5 separate regions of the Homo sapiens genome follow, and regions 2, 3, 4 and 5 are each linked to region 1. The links are contacts of gene promoters, found by promoter capture Hi-C in human tissues and cell types (Jung and others, 2019). All regions are on one chromosome and are shown on one strand. The core of a region is centred on a gene start or on the middle of the fragment in contact, and the rest is flanking DNA. Distances in the headings are between cores, read along the strand shown.

Region 1 (3,070 bases), core at 262-2,761:
CATCTCTACTAAAAATACCAACAAACAAAACAAACAAACAAACAAAAAATTAGCTGGGTGTGGTGGCGTGTGCCTACTCAGGAGGCTGAGGCAGGAGAATCACTTGAACCTGGGAGGTGGAGGTTGCAGTGAGCTGAGATTGTGCCACTGCACTCCACCCTGGGCAACAAGAGCAAAACTCTATCTCAAGAAAAAAAAAAAGAAATGCGTATTACAAGTTTCTCTCCCTTGCCTCCCTCCCTTTCCTCCCTCCCTTTCCTCCCTCCCTTTCCTTCCTCCCCTTCCTTCCTTCCTTTCTTTCTTTTTTTCGTTCTTTCTTTCTTTTGACAAGGTCTCACTCTGTTGCCCAGGCTGGAGTGCAGTGGCACGATCTACAATCTCTGCCTCCTGGGCTCAACTGACCTGCCCACCTCAGCCTCCTGAGTAGCTGGGACTGCAGGCATGTGCCACCACACCTGACTAATTTTTTTTATTTTTTAGTAGAGATGGGGTTTTGCCATCTTGCCCAGGCTGGTCTCGAACTCCTGAGCTCAAGTGATCTGCCCATCTCGACATCCCACAGTGTTGGGATTACAGGCGTGAGCCGTAACACCTGGCCTACAAATTACTTTTCCTCTGCTTTTTCTTTAGTTATATCATCATGTTCAGGATATTAAAGGGGTGGTAGCAAAATAAATGTTATAGGGAGACCTCAGGTCCAATGTGGTCGAGAGACACAGCCCAAAGTTTTGCGAGATGCATGAACCAAGATGCTTCAGGAGGGCGTACGGCTCATTTCTGTAATCCCACACTTTGGGAGGCTGAGGTGGGAGGATCACTTGAGTCCAGGAATTTGAGACCAGCCTGGGCAACATATGGAGACTTTGTCTCAGGAAAAAAAAAAAAGAATGCTTTGCACACAGCCTCATAATGTGAGAGACTCTCCCTTCTTGAGCTGTTTAGGGCTGGCAGAAAAGAGGCCACTATGCACAGTGTGCAGTTTCTTCCCTCAGATCTTTGGAGGAGTCATTCCCAGTCTAAATCCCTAAATCAAGCAACCCCAGGATGGGTCACTCCAACTTCATTTCCCAGGCTCTCCTTTGGGCCTGCTTCCTTATTTCTGTAATGCGGAAACTCAACAACCAAGAAGGTGAACTGTTGGCATTGTACCGACATTTGGCACAGTGTCTGTGAAATAGTCACCCATATTAATGCAAACTGAAGGGCTCCTCCACTTCAGTTCACCAGTGAATGGGGTTTGGCATTTCCATGTCCTCGTTTCCTCTTCCTGAGCCAGTCCCTCACCACCCCAGATCACCCCCTGGCCCACCTGCTCATGCAACTTGTCCTCGGGGCCTGGCTTTTCCTTGTGGTGCTTGGCGTTCATGCAGACATTGAGAAGCTCAGTCCTGGCCCATGCAATCCTTGTCTGAGCCTCCCCTACTACAGCCACCCACACTAGAAGGAGCAGCAGCTGTGTTGTCATCCGCTGAGCCATGTCTGTCCCTGAAGAAAGAGCTGTGGTCAGTGGCACCAAGGAATGCGGAGGTGGGGCCTTAAGTTGTGTGCAGGGCTCCAGGAGGGTGGGGCCTGGACGGAAGCCTGGGGCAGATAGAGCCCTGCCCCCATCTCCCTCAGTTTTCCCAGATCCAATGAAAGGTAGGATTAGACACCACCCCTCCCTGGCTTGAGCCTCATTGCCTTCTCCAGGTGGTCACGAGGTTCAGGTGATATAATTCAAGGATGGATTTGGGCAAAATGCAGAAATAGCCAGGAGTTTGCCATAGGTCCACAATGCCTTATTCAAATGTTTCAGGGTTAAAATTTTTTAGGATTTCATCAAAGGTGATTCAAAGAAAATATAATTTTCATATACCCAATAATCAAGTGTATATTCTGGGGTGAAACAGTTACACTAGTGGGATAAATTAAAACTATACATAAACTCACATTAATTTTCAGGTCAGATTTTGACACCAAATTACTTCATTGTAAAAGTTTACAAAAATGGGCTGGGCGCGGTGGCTCATGCCTGTAATCCCAGCACTTTGGAAGGCTGAGGTGGGTGGATCACCTGAGGTCAGAAGTTTGAGACCAGCCTGGCCAACATAGTGAAACCCTGTCTCTACTAAAAATACAAAATGAGCTGGGTGCGGTGTCGTGTGCCTGTAGTCCCAGCTACGTGGGAGGCTGAGGCAGGAGAATCACTTGAATCCAGGAGGTGGAGGTTACAGTGAGCCAAGATTGTGCCATTGCACTCTAGCCTGGGTGACAGAGCGAGACTCCATCTCAAAAAAAAAAAAAAAGTTTATAAAAATGTTTTAGTTGGGGGGGCTGCAGTGTGGTTTTTGTTAGTTTGTTTTGCTTTTTAAACCTTGGTCCCAGCCCCTTTCTAGCCTCATCACTCAAGCTAGTTTAGTAGGCCCTTCCCGGAAACCATGGGATCTTGGTGGGGTGGGGTCACAGGACATGGGTGCTGGCAGGGGACAGCCAGCTGGACAGCCCTGGGGCCTTGGGGAGCTCCTGTGCCCCCTACCACAGAGCTGGCTTCTCCTTGGTCATCACAGAACTTCAATCCTTTGACCTCAGACACTGAATTTTGGGAGGCGACTGTTTCCTTCACTCCACTGGACACCAGGTGTCTGGGCCCTCCTAAAATGCTCAGAATTTATTTCCTATGACTTCTCTCCATCTGTCTCCTCTAACTCATCTTCCACATACCAGTCGCTAAAGTGGACATGCCTTTCCCGCTCACAAGCTTGCCTTGCCCCCGTGCTGCCCCTCCTCTCCTCTTGACAGGGCCTCCTTGACAGGGGTCTAGGCAGGGCCTGAGCTGGGCTGTCTCCAGGCCGACTGCACAGCAGGGCTCATATAAGCCTGGAATTGAATTCCCACCCAGCAGCTCTCTTTCCTGCTCCACAATCCATTACTCTGCTACTCTATTGATTCCAGTGTTCATTCACTCTCTCATGGTTGATTCATTCATTCCAGGATCCAATCATGCCCCTGTGGACCTGCTCACTCACTAACCTTGAGGGCCACGCCGGAGAAATCTGTACTCTCAGGGAATACCAGGTGATCCTTTGGGTTC
Region 2 (3,070 bases), core at 297-2,796, 240 kb before region 1:
AACAAAGTCCTTGTCTCATGGGGCTCATGCTGTAGTGGAGAAAGACAATAAAAATGTAGTATGTCAGATGGTGATAAATGCTGTGAAGGAAAATTAGGATGGGGTGCGTAGGATTACTATTTTAACCAGAATGGTCAGGGAAGACTCTGATCATGTGAAGTCTGAGCAGACGTACAAGACTTGGAAGAAACAGAACTGGCACAAAGAAGAACTTCCTCCTTTGCCTACCTATGGGTTCAGTTTGGAAAAGAGGGGGCGGGATGGGAGTGCAGGTGTTAATGGAAACTATATGCTCAAAATCAGAAGACCTGAGCATTACTTTACTCCAGGTGATTTACTGGCAAATCTTTTCACCTTTGAGCCTCAATTCCCTTCACTGTAGACGGGAATAACAGTTCTTGCCCAGCTTCTCACACACAGCTGCCATGAGGATCAGATGAGATGACCCACTTGAAAGCCCTTTAAAAATAACACAATCAGGGCCAGGCGCAGTGGCTCACGCCAGTAATCCCAGTACTTAGGGAGGCTGAGGCAGGTGGGTCGCTTGAGGTCAGGAGTTGGAGACCAGCCTGGCCAACATGGTGAAACCCCGTCTCTACTACTAAAAATACAAAAATTAGCCAAGCGTGGTGGTGCGTGCCTGTAATCCCAGCTACTCGGTAGGCTGAGGTGGGAGAATCGCTTGGACCAGGGAGACGGAGGTTGCAGTGAGCCGAGATGGCGCCACTGCACTCCAGTTTGGGCGGCAGAGTGAGATTCTGTCTCAAAAAAAAAAAAAAAAAAAAGACCGGAAGTCAACTCTTCAAATAAAATGTATTCCTATCTCAGGTGCAGTAGTTACCCTAAACATCTTTTTGAAAGGCCGCCCAGGCTGAAAAAAGAGATAGGCTAAACTAAATAAGCATAAGTTTCATAATATGCCTCTGCTGAAGATTCTTGGGTAATTTACACCAGTCAAAAATTGTGGGCCGGGCGCGGTGGCTCACGCTTGTAACCCCAGCATTTTGGGAGGCCGAGGCGGGCGGATCGCCTGAGGTCAGGAGTTAGAGACCAGCCTGGCCAACGTGGTGAAACCCCGTTTCCACTAAAAATACAAAAATTAGCTGGGCATGGTGGCGGGCGCCTGTAATCCCAGCTACTCGGGAGACTGAGGTAGGAGAATTGCTTGAACACAGGAGACGAAGGTTGCAGTGAGCCGAGATCGCGCCACGGCACTCCGGCCTGTGAGACAGAGCGAGACTCCGTCTCAAAAAAAAAAAAAAAAAAAAAGTGTGTCGTGTGCTTCAACTAAACTAGGAAAGAAGTCTTGGGATTCTAATCTTTAACTCTAATCGCCACGCCCCTTCACCCGAACTCTATTTCCCAATATGCCCCGGGCTTCTATAATCCCGCAGTCATTGTGACGCAATCCCACAGCCTTCTGGGAAACGTAGTTTATTTATTCTCCAGCTGGGGAAAGGCTTAGGGCTGTGGACTACCTCTCCCGTGAGGTAGTGCGCAACTCCACCCTGTTCGCGGCGTCTTCGAACGCGCCGCGGCAGCCATGTTGGACGTGGTCAGCACAGGGGCCGGCACCACGGGGTTATCGAAGCAGCTGTCAAGATGCTGGGGTCCCTGGTGTTGAGGAGAAAAGCACTGGCGCCACGGCTACTCCTCCGGCTGCTCAGGTCCCCAACGCTCCGGGGCCATGGAGGTGCTTCCGGCCGGAATGTGACTACTGGGAGTCTCGGGGAGCCGCAGTGGCTGAGGGTAGCCACCGGGGGGCGCCCTGGAACATCGCCGGCCTTGTTCTCCGGACGTGGGGCAGCCACCGGGGGGCGCCAGGGAGGACGCTTCGATACCAAATGCCTCGCGGCTGCCACTTGGGGACGCCTTCCTGGTCCCGAAGAAACACTCCCAGGACAGGACAGCTGGAACGGGGTCCCCAGCAGGGCCGGACTGGGCATGTGCGCCCTGGCCGCAGCGCTGGTGGTTCATTGCTACAGCAAGAGTCCGTCCAACAAGGGTGATTATGAGATCTGGGTTTGAGGAAGGGAGAGGCGGGAAGATTGTCCTAACTTCGTATCTTAGGAGGGTGGGAGGTACTTATAGGTTTAGATCCTTAGAGCCTAAGTCTTGGAGGGACTCAGACATCATCTGGTTACAGGGGCAGGGTGTTGCCCTAGAGACCTCATCACCTCGGAGTTGTATAATCTCGTACCATAGATCCGCTTCCCCTCTCTGGGCATCATTTTATCCATCTGTACAATGGGGATATTGGACTAAACATCTAATATTATAGCATGGTCCCCTTATGTTTCTCATATTCTGCCTGGTCCAATTCCTCTTTCCTGAGATCTCCAGGAAACGGAAATTATGGGGTGTTTTAAGGGCAACCGCCAGATGGTTTAGAGAAGTTGCCAAACCGCTCCCCCCTACCCCCCGCCACCAAAGGTGCCAGAGTCAGGAACAACCTGACTCGGTTCTAATGCCAGCTTGACCTCAATTTATTTATTTATTTATTTATTTATTTATTTATTTATTTATTTATTTATTTCTGAGATGGAGTCTTGCTCTGTCGCCAAGCTGGAGTGCAGTGGCGCAATCTCGGCCCACTGCAACCTCCGCCTCCCGGGTTCAAGCTATTCTCCTGCCTTAGCCTCCCAAGTAGCTGGGACTACAGGTGCGGGCCACCACACCCAGCTAATTTTTGTATTTTTAGTTGTTGGTCAGGATGGTCTCGATCTCTTGACCTCCTGATCCACCCGCCTTGGCCTCCCAAAGTACTGGGATTACAGGCGTGAGCCACCGCGTCTGACCAATTTCTTTATTTATATAGTGAAGGATAGTTTCCCAACATTTTTACAGTACTGTTATTTTGACTCTTTTTGGAGTTCAGCGGCCTGAGTCTGTCAGTCTCAGGATTTTGCTGTGTCTGGTCTCACATGCTGTGAGGTGATCTTGCCATGTGGGATAGTTGGCAGGAGAAGGAAGGTGGATTCCTGGAGGCCCAAGGGCAACTGCTGGGGGACTGGCTGATCCCGATTAGCATCTCATTTGGATCCGGGGAGCTAAGCAGCAGCTGAGAGAG
Region 3 (3,070 bases), core at 343-2,842, 210 kb before region 1:
TGGGAGGATTGTGATCCTCATTGGACCTATGAAGAGACAAAGCTTAGCCAGATGATGTGCCTTCCTTTAGGATGTTAGAATAGTAGGTGGCAGAGGCTGGGCGCGGTGGCTCATGCCTGTAATCCCAGCACTTTGGGAGGCTGAGGCGGGTGGATCACAAGGTCAGGAGATCAAGACCATCCTGGCTAATACGGTGAAACCCCGTCTCTGCTAAAAAATACAAAAAATTAGCTGGGCGTGGTGGCAGGCACCTGTAGGCCCAGCTACTTGGGAGGCTGAGGCAGGAGAATGGCGTGAACTCGGGAGGCGGAGCTTGCAGTGAGCCGAGATCGTGCCACTGCACTCCAGCCTGGGCGACAGAACGAGACTCCATCTCAAAAAAAAAAAAAAATAGTAGGTGGCAGAGCTAGAGCTAGAACCCAGGTCTCCTGACTCTCCTGTATGTTCTTTCATTGAAATGATAGCAGGTTTAGAGAAGTGCCTCTTCCAGGAGTTCTATGATAGCAGGTTTAGAGAAATGCCTCTTCCAGGAGTTCTTCCTCTTAAAATAGAAAACCCTGCAATATACAGAAGAGAAAATCCCGAAATGCAAACATGCGTATAACAAATAGCTCAAAATTGTTAGTCATCAGAGACATGCAAGATAAAACAATAATATAATAGCCCTTTACACCCACCCATTAGACTGGCAGTGATTAGAAAGCTGGCTATGGCCAAGTGTTGACAGGAAGAGGGATACACAGGCACACCTCTGTCCTGCTTGTGGAAGGGTCAGTGGGGCAGCTATTCAGAAGAGGACCTTGGCACTATTTAGTCAAATCAACTATGCACATACTGTAGGACCCAGTGATTTCACTCCAAGTACATGCCACAGGGAAATGCTCACATAGGTCCAAAAGGGGACATAGGAGAGGATGTTCTGTGAGCATTGTTTTTGGTGGCTGGGAGATAGAGGCTCCCTGGGCGGGTATGCCTGGGAGAGCAGAGAAAGAAAATGTGGACACACACCGTGGGGAGTTATGCAACAGTTAAAAACAATGGAGTTATTGCATACTTAGCAATATGAGTATACTTAAAACAGAATTTTCTGTGAAAAAAGTTGTAAGCAGAATTTTATACACATACACACACACACGTACCTACACACACCCATGTATATGTATTTATAAAAGAAGGAAGGAGGGAAGGAAAAGAAGAGATAGATCTTGCCTGGCTCAGGTCTTGGAAAGCAAGAACCTCTCTCTCTGTCTCCTCCCCAGTAGCCAGCAAGAGGCTGGGCACAGAGTGGGTGTGTGCACATGTTTGCTGAATGAATGAACAAAGTGCCTAGAGCCAGCTTTGCTGAATTATCCAGGTCATCCTGTGTGATCACATCTTAGAATCCCTGGGTATTAGCCAACCTGCCACTACCAGCTTGAGAGTGCAACACTTTGTTCCATCAAAATGATGGAAGTGAGATAGGATAGTAGGGTCTGTATTGAATACCTGCTATATGCCAAGGCTGGGATCTTGCAACTTAGAGATTATTATCCCAGAGGTCAGAAGACTGAAAATTAGTGTTGATTTGCTTAGAGTTATCTAGCTAGATCAGAATTCAAATCGGGGTCTGACTTACTCCAATGCCCTTTATTCATCCATTTCTTTTTATTAGACTGCACTCGGCCCTTCAGGGGCAGTAGGAGGAGGCATTTCAATCTTCTTTCTTCAGCCCTACCTCTAGAGCAACGCTGCTTCCACAATTTTCAGGGTCCAGGCAGGGGAACATGGGTCATTGTTCCCTTGGAGGCATGAGGGATTTTGGTCACTCTGAGTTTATCCTAGCTGCACCCTCCTTTCTCATTTTCCTGCCCAAGCTCCTCTCCCAAGGTCTGTATTACACCTCCAAACTGGTCTTCTTATCCCCATTTTGTACTCTTCGCCCTTCAAATTCAGCCTGCTTAGTGATTAGGTTAATTTTATAATTTCTTTTGTCCCAAAACCTTGAATGGACAACCTCACTGCCTTTGGTGGGAAGCTAAGGAATGGCAACTAGGTTTTCTCTCTGTTGCTAACTTCAGTGGATTGATGGTGGCTGATTGGAACCTATTTTGAAGAGGATTCTTTTTTTTTTTTTGAGACAGAGTCTCACTCTGTCGCCCGGGCTGGCGTGCAGTGGTGTGATCTCAGCTCACTGCAAGCTCCGCCTCCCAGGTTCACACCATTCTCCTGCCTCAGTCTCTTGAGTAGCTGGGACTACACGTGCCTGCCACCACGCCCGGCTAATTTTTTGTATTTTTAGTAGAGATGCGGTTTCACCGTGTTAGCCAGGATGGTCTCGATCTCCTGACCTCGTGATCCACCTGCCTTGGCCTCCTAAAGTGCTGGGATTACAGATGTGAGCCACCGTGCCCGGCCTTGAAGAGGATTCTGAGGCTCTTTCAAAGGCTCCACAGCAAGAACTGCTGGGAGAGATGTGTGATATCCCTCTTAGACGTGGGAGCACAGGACAGTAGCATGCATGCCAGGAATCTGTCAAACCTTTAGACTGAGCTTTTATCCTAGGGTCCATTACTGATTTCATGGGGGCTGCGAACACCTGATCATTATATGTAAAAAAAATGTTTTTGAGAGTGTATGCTCCTATGCACTTTTCTGGAAGAAATTTGATCGTAGTCACAAAAGAGCCCATATCTCAGAAAGGTTTATGCCCACTGCCTTAGCCTCCTAGTCTGACATTCGAGGTCTTGTGTTGGCTGTGCATGCCTCAGCAGCTGTCTGTTTCTCTGCTGTGAACTGTCACCCAGATGGAGCTGCCTAATGATCTCTGAATGTTCCTTTCCTGCTTCGCAGTCATACCCTGTTTCTTGCCTTGATTGACGTGCACTTCCTTCCACTTCTCTAAACTCTTCCCCTTCTTCAAGACACAATTCAAGTTTGTGCCGTCAGAAGCCTCTGATTTTCTTCAGCCTATCCTGATTTTCTAGCCTCTTGGACTGAGGGTCAGAGAAGCGAGGCCATCCCATCAGGATCATAGTTAGGATCAGAACCATGCGCTCTCTACCATATCACGTGGCCTGCTAAACAAGGAGAA
Region 4 (3,070 bases), core at 287-2,786, 190 kb after region 1:
GTGGCAGCTGTGGTGGTCTGCGAGACAGGTGTGGCTCTGACCAGGAGAGTGACGACGTGGGCACACAGGAGCAGGACCCACAAAGGGCTGAGGTCTGAGGAAAGGACAGTTACAGGTCAGCGGCTCTGGAGACAGAGTGGGCTGCCCGGGTAAGGATGTAACTCCAGCCCAGAGATGTCTGGGTTCTAGCCAGGGAATCAGAGCGGGAAGAGGGACCCCTCAGCACCCACCCCTTAGCCCTTTATTGAACAGAGTACAGAGAAGCTTTAGACTGGAGCCAGAGCTACAATATCTGCCCAGGTTCTTAAAGCAACAGCACCAGGTGCGCTGGGTGGTTTGCCTTGGAGTGAAGGCTCCGGGTTAGCCCATTGCTCCATTCTGTTCATAGACCTCACCCTACCCCGCCTGCCCATGCGTAGCCCCAAGGCCTACCTGGTGTCCAGTTGTGTCTCATGGTCATGATGCATGCGTCAGGAGCTGGTGAGCCTGGCTCTTTATCTGTGACAACGTCCTCTTCTCTGGTGAAAGGTGGGGGAGGAGAATGGTAAACCACTCCCGCTTTTTCTCAGTAGCTGGCTTTTCCTCAGTAGCTGGCTTCTCCTCCCGTAGCATAGCCTGGAGCTCTTTCAGCACTTAGAAACAGAGCTGGGGGGGTCAAGTGACAATCCTTCCCCACCCCAGCTCTCATGACCACAAATGGTTGTAAGATGCTTACCTAGTCCAATCTTACCCCTTCATTAGGGAAGGCAAAATTGAGACCCAAAGAGAGAATATGGACTCACCCAGTCACACAGGGAGGCAGTGCTCTCTTCAGCACCAGAGCTGCTTCTGGGAAGGGCAGGATGCCGAGCAATCCTTCTGGGAAAGCACTGCCCCGACCCTCTATTTCACTTTCACTTTTTAACCAGGGAATCTTGAGCAGCTGTGACACCTCTGCTTTAGCCAAAGTTCAGTGGCCAGAAACCTTCAGCTCCTGGGACTCCTACTCTCCAGAGGATACCAGACTGGGATCTCTAATCTACCCCCATGCCACCCCCAGGGTCACCTAGGGTATGAACTAGATGAGTCTCTCACAGATCAATTCTGTCCCGCCCAAGTGTCAGGACTTTGGTGTCCGCCTCCCCTCTTCACAGCCAGGTCTTTGTTTCCATATGAACAGGCATCTGCTTCCTCCTTCACCTTCACACTGACATTCAAGGGGACAACTTTCCTAGGCACTGGGGAACCCCAAGTTGGACCACTTCAGGCTCAATGCCATACCAGTCCGTCCACATCCTGGCCTTTCCCAGGCTACCCACTCCCCCAGCCACCAGCCCCAAGGTCGGCTACATCTCCCAGCACCCACCATCACACCCTCTGTCTCTCATCCTAGCCCCTCTGGCCAGAGCCACAGGTCTAGGTTCACTAGTAGTCCCAGACTCCTACCTGGCTCCTAAGAGGTCCTGAAGAGCCTTCCTTTCCAGAAGCTTCCCTCTAGGAGCTCCAAGACTCAAGTTAGCTGTGTCTAGCTGCGTGTGAACCCACCACAGGAAATACACCGAGAGCACTTCCTCCTTGTCTGTAGAACTCTCACGGCCAACCCAGGAACTGGCACACAAGCTCGAGAGCCAACCCTAACAGGAGGGAAGGGCAGGCACTTCCCGGGGAAGAGGCGGACTGGCTCAACACTGGCTCTGGCAACAGAGTCTACATCAGAATATGAATCTTGTCACTGATGGGACAAATGGCGCTGGGGCTGCGGGAGGGCCAGGATTCAGGGTGAGGCGTGTGAGGAACCTAGGATGCTAAATCTAAGGAGGTTTTCTCTCAGGGTCATGCAGTTATCCATGGAGGCAGAAAGACCAGGGCTGGGTGATCCAATGCATGCATATATTAAGTGTGGACAGGAGCTGCATGTCTGAGGTTTGTGACTCCTGTGATTGGGAGGGTGCAACGGCTGGTGACAGAGCCAGGGAGGCCCACAGATGGAACTGGGTTTGGTGGATGCATCAGGAACACAGTCAGCTGTGATCTCAAACTTCTTGTAGAAAAACCAGATTCATATTCCTAATTTAGACATAGGATACTACAAGTCACATCCTTCTTCTCTAGGTGTCTAGTTCATGTTTTTCCTCCTCTCAATTCCTCCCCCTACCTCCTGCCCCAGGGGCTTCTAGCATGTAAGATGCAGGAGAAATTCCTCCCAAGAACACCAGCATCTCCAGGAGTTAGGTCAGGAGGCAAGGCTGCCTGGGGTTTCTGAGAGAGACAGTCCAGTGGGGGATGGTAGGGAAAGATGACAGGACTCTGTCTTAGTGGAACCGAGACCAGAGTCAGGCCAAGGGGGGAGGTCAAGGGACTCAGAACTGTTACACATGAAAAGAGCTTTGGACAGCCTGGCCTCGGCTTCTCACCTGAGCCTGACAGGGGGGTGGGGGGAAAAAGTAAAAGGAAGGGTGATCCCTAGGTCCTCTGACCAGCCCCATTCCCCTCTCTGAGGAGGGGAACAGCCCCACAGGTGGCATAAGCAGCAGGGTACCATGGGAAGCCACAGCTGGGGAAGAGAAGCCGAGCCTGAGTGTGGTCCTCAGGAAGGCAGGTGGTGGCGGGACACTGTCCTCAGGCAGTGAGAACATAGAGCAACCTCAGTCTGAAGGCAGGCCCAATGATGCCCCAGGCCCCCAGGCCACAGGACAGGAGCCTGGCATTCCACCACTCCTAGGGATGTCAGCAGGGGAACAGCTGGGAACAGCAGAAAGGCAGGCCCAACCACCCCCAGACCCTCAGGTCTCCGATGGGGGTTAACAAAGGCAAGACACCCCTGGGGACCCCAGGGAAAGAGGTGGGAAGAAGAAAGCAAGATAAATGTTCAGCTTTCCAACCCAGCTCATGGAGCTTTATTCAGACGGGAGTGACAACATCCTGCTTCGTTCTTGCTGCCCTTGAAGGGGCAGGCCCTACTGAGCCATATTCCCTAGAAACCCAATGCCGAAGGCCCATGTTTGACCTCCCACTTTATTCAAGTCGCCTAGGACTAGGGCTGGGGCCTTCCTAGAAGCCCCCTCTCAGAACCTGTTCTCACCCACCCACC
Region 5 (3,070 bases), core at 174-2,673, 160 kb after region 1:
AGCTCACAGCAGCCTGGAACTCCTGCACTCAAGCAATCCTCTGCCTCCCACCTTAGCCTCCTGAGTAGCTAGGACCACAGGCATGCACCACCATGCTGGGCTATTTTTCCTTTCTCTCTCTTTTTTTTTTTTTTTTTAATTTTTTGGGGAAAGGGTCTTGCTATGTTGCCTAGGCTGATCTCAAACTCCTGGCCTCAAGCGATTCTCCCTCCTCGTCCTCCCAAAGCACTGGGATTACAGGCATGAGCCACCACACCTAGCCTAAATGTTGTATTTATTTATTTATTTATTTTTTTGAGACAGGGTCTCAATCCGTTGGCCAGGCTAGAGTGCAGTGGTGTGATCATAGCTCGCTGTAGCCTTGACCTCCCAGGCTCAAGCGATCTTCCCACGTCAGCCTCCCGAGTAGCAGGGACTACGCGAGCATACAGGCGCAAGCCACCTCACCCAGCTAAAAATTTTTTTAAATTATTATTTTGTAGAGCCAGGGTCTCCTTATGTTGCCCAGGCTGGTCTTGAACTCCTGGCCTCAAGCAGTCCTTCCACCTCAGCCTCCCCAAGTGCTGGGATTACAGGCATGGGCCACTGCGCCTGGCCTAAAAGTTGTTTTTAAATGTGAAAGTGTTTAACTCAAATAAATACTATCATGTCTGTAGAGAAATCATTGATTTTTAAAAATCCTCTTAATTCTATAGTGCATGCAGCTAACTTAACTATTAAGAAATACAAATGTTATGTCTACTTCATTATTTTAATTTTATTAACCATAATAGTGCTTTATGTTTATTAGTTTTTCTTTTTTCTTTTTTTTTTTGAGATGTCTCTGTTGCCCAGGCCACAGTGCAGGGACACTATCATAGCTCATTGTAACTTCTCCAGCTCCTGGGCTCAAATGATCCACCTACCTCAGCCTCTTATGTAGGTAGGACTTACAGGCACATGTCACCATGTCCAGCTTGCTTGCTTGCTTATTTATTTATTTAGTAGAGACAAGGTATTGTTATGTTGCCCAGGGTGGTCCTAAACTCCCAGCCTCAAGCAGTCCCCCTACCTCAGCCTCCCAAAGTGCTGGGATTACAGGTGTGAGCCACTGCACCTGGCCTACTTTATATTTTTTAATGTGTTCTTGCATCCATAATCCCATTTGAGCTCACACTGGTCCTTTGAAGTAGATAAAGTAGGGATTCCATCCATTTGGCAAGGGAGGAAACTAGTGCAGAGAGAAATAAAGTTTGTAACAAAGGTTGCTGGCAAGTTTGTGGAGGAGCTGGGCCCAAAGTGTGTATGTACTGGCTCCCAGCCCAAATATAGAGAACACATTTGTAAGCAATAGAATCTAGTTGTCTGCACATAACCACTATGCTGAAGTTCTTTAAAATACCTTGTTTCTTAAAGCAGGCTCAGTCTCTCTCCCCTCTTAGTGTTGAATATGTGAATAATTAACTTAGCAAACCCTTTCTTCCTATAGTAATAAAAACGTAAACTTCAGCCCAGGCTACTTCTGAACTGTAGTGCCTGTGGAATTCATGAGGTTTTCCTGTAGAGGTTGACCATGTATACTTATTGAATAACCTGTGTACCTGATGTGTGTGACCCCTGGTGAATATTCTAGTGGTAAAAACTGATTTAAATGTATGCCTATCTGAAGCCAAAGAATGGGAACAGGCAACTAAATTAGAATTAAGAAGTTTTTCTTTGAAATTCCCAGCTCCTATTCTTTCATCCCCCACCGCCCCCTTTTTTTTTCTTTTCTTTTCTTTTTTTTTTTCCTTTGGAGACAGGGTCTTGCTCTGTCACTCAGGCTAGAGTACAGTGATGCAATCCCAGCTCACTGCAGCCTCGACCTCCCTGGGCTAAGGTGATCCTCCCACCTCAGCCTTCTAAGTAGCTGGGACTACAGGTATGTGCCACCACTCCTGGCTAATTTTTTGTATTTTTTGTAGGACAGGGTTTCACCATGTTGCCCAGGTTGGTCTTGAACTCCTGAGCTCAAGTGATCTTCCCGCCTCAGCCTCCCAAAGTGCTAGGATTACAGGTGTGAGCCACCGCGCTTGGCTCCCTCCACCCCCTTTTTAAAAAATCATCTTGTTCCCCTATTGTTTTTCCCTTCTCCCCTCAGCCAAAGCTTTATGTGTGGAAAGAATAAAAATGTATTAATAAGATTTTATATCTTTGTGGGAGTGTATAGCATATATGTAATATTTAAGTTTTGAATAGATATTTCAAAACTCAAGAGCCACAAAGGGCTATAATATAAAATGTATTAATAAGATTTTATATGTTTGTGGGAGTGTATAGCATATATGTAATATTTAAGTTTTGAATAGATATTTCAAAACTCAAGAGCCACAAAGGACTATAATATAAAAATCCAAGGGATACAGAAACTTATAATGTAAACGTTCAAGAAATACAAAGAGCTATAATACATTCAAGAGCTACAGAGAGTTATAATGTAAGAGCCTTTCTTTTCCCACCTCAGACTCCCTGCTGTCAAGTTCCTCTCTTTAGAAGCAGTGGTAGTACCAATTTATTGGTGTATCCTTCCAAAATACTCCCAGTGCTGGAACATCTTAGGAAAGTTTAAGCTTTTATTTAGTTGAAGCCAAAGGAAGGGCTCTCTGATGGTTGCATTTCAGGTGGCTGTAACTGGATGAGTGAGTGCAACGGCACTCCTTCCTGAAATTAAAAACCTGAGAATCATCAGTTCTTGTATTCCTATAGTCTACAACTGTAAGCACTCACATTAAGCCTCTGGGAAAAGGAGCAAACCATGTTGCTTCTAACGGTCTCACTAGGCTGTTCCCTTTGATTTACAGGTGAACAGTCTACACGTGGCTGACCCTGTGGAGGCTGTGCTGCAGCTCCAGGACTGCAGCATCTTCATCAAGATCATTGACAGAATGTGAGTACGCACCATACCCCTTTCTAGCCTCTAAGGCAAAGCTGATTGCTGGGGTGGGGGCTGTACTTGTTCTCTTTACTTGATGATGGCTATGACCAGAAATCAGGGGAAGGATTGGGACATCATAAGCCAGGGTGGGGCCTAAAGGCAAGAATACATTGACCT

Evidence for each region. Contacts are between HindIII fragments. The study calls those that stand out against the background at their distance.
Region 2: a contact is called between the fragment with the promoter of CLPB here and the fragment with the promoter of FOLR1 in region 1, in 5 of the 25 tissues and cell types used here (IMR-90 fibroblasts, aorta, lymphoblastoid cells and 2 more).
Region 3: a contact is called between a fragment that was not itself captured here and the fragment with the promoter of FOLR1 in region 1, in 1 of the 25 tissues and cell types used here (spleen).
Region 4: the fragment with the promoter of IL18BP here is called in contact with the fragment with the promoter of FOLR1 in region 1 in 1 of the 25 tissues and cell types used here (mesendoderm cells).
Region 5: a fragment that was not itself captured here is called in contact with the fragment with the promoter of FOLR1 in region 1 in 1 of the 25 tissues and cell types used here (H1 embryonic stem cells).

Annotation. Positions count from the first base shown.
Region 1 is chr11:72,190,581-72,193,650 of GRCh38, reverse strand. It overlaps FOLR1 (folate receptor alpha), which reads right to left and starts at 1,511. Exons shown (of 4, transcript NM_016729.3): 1 at 1,310-1,511. The coding sequence starts at 1,477. All of the region lies in intron 2 of FOLR1-AS1 (FOLR1 antisense RNA 1), which reads left to right. The HindIII fragment of the contact is 9,856 bases long and covers 1,127-3,070 here.
Region 2 is chr11:72,433,007-72,436,076 of GRCh38, reverse strand. CLPB (ClpB family mitochondrial disaggregase) reads left to right here and starts at 1,546. Exons shown (of 16, transcript NM_001258392.3): 1 at 1,546-2,005. The coding sequence starts at 1,603. RefSeq lists enhancers at 595-1,401, 1,465-1,924. The HindIII fragment of the contact is 14,936 bases long and covers 1-3,070 here.
Region 3 is chr11:72,404,971-72,408,040 of GRCh38, reverse strand. The region is part of intron 2 of CLPB (ClpB family mitochondrial disaggregase); the gene reads left to right. Among named protein-coding and RNA genes, the nearest start is that of CLPB, 28 kb to the left of the region's middle. The HindIII fragment of the contact is 5,962 bases long and covers 1-3,070 here.
Region 4 is chr11:71,997,375-72,000,444 of GRCh38, reverse strand. IL18BP (interleukin 18 binding protein) reads right to left here and starts at 1,536. Exons shown (of 6, transcript NM_001039660.2): 1 at 1,426-1,536; 2 at 433-518; 3 at 1-94. The coding sequence starts at 460. RNF121 (ring finger protein 121) reads right to left here. Exons shown (of 9, transcript NM_018320.5): 9 at 2,848-3,070. The HindIII fragment of the contact is 6,503 bases long and covers 866-3,070 here.
Region 5 is chr11:72,029,040-72,032,109 of GRCh38, reverse strand. NUMA1 (nuclear mitotic apparatus protein 1) reads left to right here. Exons shown (of 27, transcript NM_006185.4): 4 at 2,820-2,905. Among named protein-coding and RNA genes, the nearest start is that of NUMA1-AS1, 16 kb to the right of the region's middle. The HindIII fragment of the contact is 4,468 bases long and covers 1-3,070 here.